Regions from separate parts of the Homo sapiens genome. Here regions 2 and 3 are each linked to region 1. Evidence: promoter capture Hi-C in 16 types of primary human blood cells and fetal thymus (Javierre and others, 2016). All regions are on one chromosome and are shown on one strand. The core of a region is centred on a gene start or on the middle of the fragment in contact, and the rest is flanking DNA. Distances in the headings are between cores, read along the strand shown. Region 1 holds the start of TCN1 (transcobalamin 1). Region 2 has its middle 18 kb from the start of LINC02705. Region 3 has its middle 37 kb from the start of LINC02705.

Region 1 (2,563 bases), core at 32-2,531:
ACAGGCATGCAATGCGTAATAATCACATCATAGAGAAGGGGGTATTCATCCTGTCAAGCATTTATCCTTTACGTTACAAACAATCCAGTTATACTATTAGTTATTTAAAATGTACAATTAAATTATTATTGACTATAGTCACCCTGTTATGCTACCAATAGTAGGTCTTATTCATTCTTTCCAATATTTTGTACCCATTAACCCTCCGCATCTCCTTCCCACCACTAGCCTTCCCAGCCCCCAGTAACCATCTTTTCATTCTCTATCTCTATGAATTCAATTGTTTTGATTTTTAGATCCCACAAATAAGTGAGAACATGCAATGTATGTCTTTCTGTGCCTGGCTTATTTCACTTAACATAATTATCTCCAGTTCCATCCATTTTGTCACAACTGACAGGATTTCATTCTTTTATATGGCTGAATAGTACTCCATTGTGTATATGTACATTTGCTGTGTTCATTTATCTGTTGATAGACACTTAGCTTGCTTCCAAATCTTGGTTATTGTAAACAGTGCTGCAACAAACATGGGAGTGCAGATATCTCTTCAATATACTGGTCTTCTTTCTTTTGGGTATATAGCCAGCAGTGGGATTGCTGGATCATATGGTAGCTCTATGTTTAGTTTTTTGAGGAAGCTCCAAACTGTTCTCCATAGTGATTGTACTAATTTACATTCCCACCAACAGTGTACAAGGCTTCCCTTTTCTCTACATCCGTGCCAGCATTTGTTATTGCCTGTGTTTTGAATAAAGCCATTTTTAGCTGAGATGAGAGGATATCTCATTGTAGCTTTGATTTCCATTTATCTGATGATCAATGATGTTAAGCACCTTTTCAAGCACTTTTTCATATGCCTGCTTCCCATTTGGATGTCTTCTTTTACTTCCATTTTTATATGTTGTATGTGTTTGCATGATCAAATCTACTTTATCAGGAAACATAAAACATAAAGTGAAACGGAAAAAAAAGGAAAGATTATAGGAAACAGTCATTTGCCTAATATATCTTCACTGCACGGAAGGCAAATAATAGATATGAAACCCGAAGGTTTAGGACAGGAGACAAAGGAAAGTTATTGCCTTATTCTCCCTAACCACATCCTTCAAGTCTTCTTCCTTATTTATTACATCACATGGACAAATACACTTGACCACACCTCCTGACATTGCTCAATATTTGCTTGAGTGAAAAGAGGCTGAGGCAACCTGAAGGAGGAGCTCTCATTACCTTCTGCCCATCACTTAATAAATAGCCAGCCAATTCATCAACATTCTGGTACACTGTTGGAGAGATGAGACAGTCACACCAGCTGCCCCTAGTGGGGCTCTTACTGTTTTCTTTTATTCCAAGCCAACTATGCGAGATTTGTGGTGAGTAAACTTTGAGCTAAAATTACTCTAGAGTGATAGTCTACTGAAAACTGTTGACAAGAGACTCTATGTAGAGTTACCTGAGAAAAGATCCCATTCCAGTTTCGTATGTGGTTGGACTCCATGAATGATGAAAAGGGTGGCAGGAGATGGTGAGGAAAGTCTCACAATGCATGTTGTTGTAAGAGGAATTATAGATTGTGTATTCACTTGCCTAACTGCTCTTTCTATGCTCAGATCCTCTCTAGCACAGCATCCCTACCAAGTAACTCCCTATTCATGTGACTTTTCAATGACAGAAAATTTATGCTCCCAGAAACTTTTCTAGATCATGGAAAGTTATCTTTTGGTCTTGATATGCAATCTTTTTTCCCTGAAATTCAATGCATGATTTTTGGGTTAACCCCTTGTAACTACATAGAAAAAAATAATAATCTCTTTCAAATAGTGATGACTGCTGTCTTGTCATGAGTGAGTTTAGATGTTCCAAGTTGCATGTCCACCTTCCTTCAACTCTTTCCCAGGACACATGGGATAAAGTTCCATCATCTCTTGCATGGGTGTTGACCCCAGAGATTGTGTGGTTCTGTAAAAGAACTTTAAAGTAAGAGAAGGGAAAACTAAATTCAGGTTTAGTTTGATCCCTTAGTTATTGAATGACCCAACATTTCTGAATTTCTTTAGCTTCATTCATAAATAAAGGATAATGAGGGGAGACTATTGAAGCAAATTATCTCATGAAGTCTGGTGCAGTTCTCAAGTGCATGAATTCTCTTTTGTGAGACTTTACTCTGAAATTGAGCTTCAAACCAGTCCAAAGATTACTAGGTGGTACTATCTGTGCTCTCTAACCAGTAAGAAGAGAACACCACAGAAGACAGGCTTGTATACATACAGGCTAAAGCATAGACTCTTCTGACTCTGATTTTTCTTCTTGGCTTGACATTTCCCCTGTTGGATCCTAAGAATAGGGAATGGCTATGTAGGTTTTAGCTTTCAATTCATTTTAAATAATAATGATAATAATTAAATTTATCTTTGAGACTCAAGGAAGCTGATTTGAGTTGTTGATCAGGAACTAAAAAGTCTGTTTCAGGGCCAGAAAATCTGCTGAGCTGGATGGTTCCACAAAATCTCAGAGAACTGACTCACAATTGTTCCATTGTGTCTGCAACAAACCATGACCT
Region 2 (2,563 bases), core at 37-2,536, 280 kb before region 1:
GGTCCATTACCATTTCTCCATGAATTCCCTATCCGTTGAAAAAATGTGCAGATACTGCATTTTTTTCTGACGTCTGAGAAGAGATCCTATTTTTTTTTTTTGCACATGAAAGTGTTTATTAATCAGGAACTTTTGAACTTTCTCCCTAGACCCTTATCCATTGGACTGTCTTCGGGCCTTTTTCTTTAACTTTTATTTTAAGTTCATGGGTACAAGTGCAGGTTTCTTATATAGATAAACTTGTGGCATTGGAACGTGCTGTACAGACTATTTCATCACCCAGGTATTAAGCCTAGTACCCATTAGTTATTTTTCCTGATCCTCTCCCTGCTCCCACCCTCCAACCTCTGAAAGCCCTCAGCAAAATGATCGTTGGGAATACTGGAAAGTTACCGAGACTATTTTTTAATACAGGCACTGTTGCGTTAAAATTCAAAGTAACGCTGGCTTTTTGTTGTTATTGTTTGCTTTGTTTTGTTTTGTGTTGGTGTTTTGTTTTATTTTTTTGAAATCCACTTCTTCTTCAAAAGCAGAACATATATTTTTGAATTGAGATTCAAACTCGTGTCATCATTTTGTTTAATGCAAAGTGGAGGGGACTCCAAAGGCCTGAGATGAAGCTTTAGGATACAAGTCTTGATACGACCATGAGGTGGAATCCCAGCCAACGGAATTCTGTTCTCTTTAACGGGGCCTTGTGATTGTACTGATGATGCTAAACTGCTTGCAACTTTCAATTACTTTTGCTCTCTGCACACTCACCTATACTGCAGATGGCAGTAAAATCAGTTGGGTGAGTAACAGTTGAGAGAATGAGGATGCAATTGATTATTTTATTTAGTAATCTTGCATATAATTTTTCAAATATTTGTTAAGAGGAAGAAAGGCACAGCTGTTGTTCGTGTATAGTTTTTGAGGACCACTCCTCAAACAGTATTTTGGTCATATTTGCCCTACATTTATAAACACCTAGGATACTCAGAAACTCTCAACGGTAACACCAAGTAATTCAATATTATTTGTTAATTGATTCATTAGTTGATTTAATATCTATTGAACACTTATTTGTTTGATACACTGTGCACATGGTAAGGATATGAAAGTAGGCCATTCACTTCAAAAAAACTCAAAGTAGGCTGGGCGCAGTAGCTCACACCTGTAATCCTAGCACTTTGGGAGGCGGAGGCAGGTAGATCACATGAGGCCAGGAGTTTGAGACCAGCTTGACCAACATGGAGAAACCCCATCTCTACTATAAATACAAAAATTAGTTGGGCGTGGCGGTGCACGTCTGTAATCGCAGCTGCTCAGGAGGCTGAGGCACAAGAGTCACTTGAACCTGGGAGGCGGAGTTTGCAGTGAGCTGAGATTATACCACTGCACTCCAACCTGGGTGACAGAAGGAAATTGTGTCTCAAAAAACAAAACAAAACAAAACACTCAAAGTATATAAAGTCAATTGCCCAATGAAGAAATAAATTGGCCCTGGCGTAGTGGTTCATGCCTGTAATCTTAGTACTTTGGGAAGCTGAGGTGAGAGGATTACTTGAGTCCAGGAGTTCAAGACAAAGCTGGGCAACAGAGTGAGACCCCATCTCTACAGAAAATAAAACATTGGCCGGATGTGTGGCACATGCCTGTAGTACTAGCTACTTGGGAGACTGAGGTGGTAGAACTGTTTGAGCCCAGGAGACTGAGATTACAGTAAGTGTTGATTGAACAGTGCACTTCACCTTGGGTGACAAAAAGAAAGAGATAAATTATACTACTGTGATACAGTACATTTAACATGCTGTGAACTAGGACTATATACAAAGTGATTTAAAGAAATTGTCATTTGATTTTCCTGTTCTGCAACAGCTCAGGAGTAGGTAGTCCGTACCCGGGAGTATAGCTTTGCTTTCTTCCTTGTGTGGCTTCTTTTAAGGTATGAAAGTTGTAACTAAAGCTTTTTCCTTTATGTCTGCATCATATGGACAGATCTTTGTCATATAACCACACACAGTTATGAGTGGTGACGAAATCTAGCTATTGACTGAGCAGTTGTATGTCTAGGTTAAAACCAGGAGCTCTATTCAAGGAAGCAAGATCAGAATAAAAATTGCTAGACAATCCACATTCTCTGGCCCTAACACAGTCTTTTCTCTGGCCACCCAAATGTTCAACTCTCTCCCCAAAAAGGAAATGCACTTATTTTCTCATCGAGGTAGAAAATCCAGAGTCTCAGACATTTGTTATACTTAGCACAATCTCAGGAAATTTTTAATGATTTAACATTATTTTTCCTACAATTCTGGAACCACTTTCTTGTTATTTGGGAAATCATGTTGTCTGTACTTTCCCACACTCACAGTCAAAATACCATGATCAATTAGGAGGATTAAAAAGAATAAAAACATCTAGTTGGACAAAGAAATAATTAGTAATCCTGGAGTTACCTATTCATAGACTTTATTTGATTCTCTTAGGCAGGAATTGAGATTTGCTCCCCAAGAAATACAGCAAGATCTGCTTATAATATGGTTTTCATCTCTGCTCATTCTGGCCTTTTACTTATTACCCT
Region 3 (2,563 bases), core at 38-2,537, 260 kb before region 1:
TTCAAGACCAGCCTGGCCAACATGGTGAAACCCTGTCTCTACTAAAAATACAAAAAATTAGCCAGACTTGGTGGTGGACACCTATAATCCCACCTACTTGGGAGGCTGAGGCAGGAGAATTGCTTGAACCTGCGAGGCAGAGGTTGCAGTGAGCCAAGATCATGCCATTGCGCTGCAGCCCAGGTGACAGAGTGAGACTCCATCTCAAAAAAAAAAAAAAAAAGAAAAGAAAGAAAGAAAAAGAAAAAAAATTAAATTTCTATGCTTAACCTCACTCTGATGTGTCTGCCTCCTAGCTTTAAATGACGTGGGACAACAAACCTTGGGTGTTACCCCAGACAATGATGCCACTACATTATGCTGGCCAGAAAGGTTATGGGAGGGGAGAGAAGAGGAATTGTATTGAGGATATTACTAGGAAGAATAAAAGGATCCCTGGGAACAGATTAACTTTTAAATAACTCTCTTTGACAGTGAAAGGGTCTATTCAGGCGTTGTTACATTTTTGGTTTTACAGAAAAGCAAAGAAAAAACCAATTGTTCTTCTTGGTGGATCTGGAATTTAGGCAGATAAAGGCACTTCAACTTCTTTGGGAGAGATGATGGAAGCCCGGGGAAGGTCAGAAAGACCTTGAGGTTTCTTCAGTTCAGCAAGTTAAAGTGCCATAATTTGAGTTATTAGCTTCTGAGCTCCAACATTAACCAGACAATCAGATTTAATTCAGTGAGCTGTAAACACCCTAAGAGCCGTTAGAGAGGCAGTTAAGTCTTCATGCTTCTGGAACCATATTGTAAAAAAAAAAACATATTGTAAAAAACAAACCAAACTATCCTTGAAAAATTCCAGCCCCCAAGCTTTCAAGGAGGCTGATCTGAGTAATAAACTCCTGATCTATAGCAAGGTCTTACAGTCTTCGAGGAAGGAAGTCTCAGCAGACAAGTCTTTCAAAATGTTTTATATTTCAATTATATTATATATTTTTCTTATTGGTACCAGTGTGATAACAGCAAAAACAATGTAGACACTCCATTCAGAGGTGCTAGATTTTAAATTGTAGCTCTAATACTTATTAAAGAAATCATCTCTGGATTTTTTTATAGTTTTTAAGAATGAAACTCCCTTTGCAAAGACTATGACAGTGAGAGAAGTCTAGCATGGCTGATTTCTTCTTGCTTTTAGACTCATACATTGGCTGCCCTTGGTCATTTCTGGGTGTAGGCCAAGCTAACCATGGGAGGAATTAGGTTATAGTTTAACGTTGAAGCAAAAATGATAATAGTGCCTCTGTAAAACAAATCTCCTTGCTCAGAGACAAAACTGCCTTTGTAAAACTAATGAAAGATTAGGATTATGGGAGAGGCCTGAATTCTGCTAAAATGTAGGCAAACCTAGATAATAACCAGCCGTTGTTCTGGAGGTCACAAGATTTGCAACTTCTCCAATTTCTCCTATAGATAATATCACTATTGTAGAACCTAACATGGGTCTTTTGAGATGTTTTTCAGACTTTTGCATTCTGATGACGATGACCTACTAACTCCACCTGGACTCATGACTCATGACTCAACTGATCCTGTGGTCCCCACCCAGAGGCTGACTCTGCACACAGGAACTATTTTTCAAACCCCTATGATATCATCCCCAACCAATCAGCATTACCCATCTCCTAGCCCCTTACAAACCAAACTATCCTTGAAAAACTCTAGCCCCCAAGCTTTCAAGGAGGCTGATTTGAGTAATAAACCCCTGTCCTTCCATTTGGCTAGCTCTGTATTTATTAAAATCTTTACTGTAATACTGCTGTCTACGAATCGGCTGTAGCTGTGCAGTGGGCAATTACAAAAATAAAAGCGTTGTTAGTATCAAACCTGCTAACATATATAAGTCATTCAATGGGGTTGCCTCATATTGGGCTCTCAGAAATATTATTTTCTTTTTATGTTTATAAGTATCTATGATGTTACGATAGATATAATTTGTTTTTGTCCATCCGTGACTCCTAGTTTTCAACTAGGAAGATTCCTATAAGACTTCTCATGCCCCAAGTACTAAAGCAGTAAGAATATCTTTTGTTAAAGTATTTGATTATCCTTGGTTCCTGAAGTCACTCCTAAAAGATAAAGTTGAAAGACAGTCTTTTGTTATTTACAACAAGTGCTTTAAAATACTCCTAAGCTAGAGATATACCCAATGTAAATAAACAAGTTAACGGGTGCAGCACACCAACATGGCACATGTATACATATGTAACAAACCTGCATGTTGTGCACATGTACCCCAGAACTTAAAGTATAATAATAAAAAAAATTGTGAAAGAAAAAGAAAAAGTTGATGAATCTAGGTAAAGGCATATGAGAGTTCATTTTACAATTTTTGTAACTTTTCTAAAGGTTTAAACTTTTTTTAATAAAAAGTTTTTTAAAAAGAAAAAATAAATACATAAAATAAAATACTCCTAAGCTTATGTTAATAAGACAATTTTTAGAAAGCCCTAGAAACAACTGGTTGGAGGGCTGATTCCCAGGGGAATGATTCATTGTGCCCAGAGGGTTGGATTTTTTT

Evidence for each region. The method cuts DNA at HindIII sites, captures the fragments that hold promoters and counts their contacts. A CHiCAGO score of 5 or more calls a contact.
Region 2: a contact is called between a fragment that was not itself captured here and the fragment with the promoter of TCN1 in region 1, in 4 of 17 cell types (M2 macrophages, erythroblasts, M0 macrophages and 1 more). The highest score is 7.6, in M2 macrophages.
Region 3: a contact is called between a fragment that was not itself captured here and the fragment with the promoter of TCN1 in region 1, in 4 of 17 cell types (erythroblasts, M2 macrophages, M1 macrophages and 1 more). The highest score is 6.4, in erythroblasts.

What each region holds. Positions count from the first base shown.
Region 1 is chr11:59,865,205-59,867,767 of GRCh38, reverse strand. TCN1 (transcobalamin 1) reads left to right here and starts at 1,281. Exons shown (of 9, transcript NM_001062.4): 1 at 1,281-1,376. The coding sequence starts at 1,298. The HindIII fragment of the contact is 12,351 bases long and covers 1-2,563 here.
Region 2 is chr11:60,145,315-60,147,877 of GRCh38, reverse strand. No RefSeq gene overlaps it. Among named protein-coding and RNA genes, the nearest start is that of LINC02705, 18 kb to the left of the region's middle. The HindIII fragment of the contact is 1,328 bases long and covers 623-1,950 here.
Region 3 is chr11:60,126,409-60,128,971 of GRCh38, reverse strand. No RefSeq gene overlaps it. Among named protein-coding and RNA genes, the nearest start is that of LINC02705, 37 kb to the left of the region's middle. The HindIII fragment of the contact is 860 bases long and covers 858-1,717 here.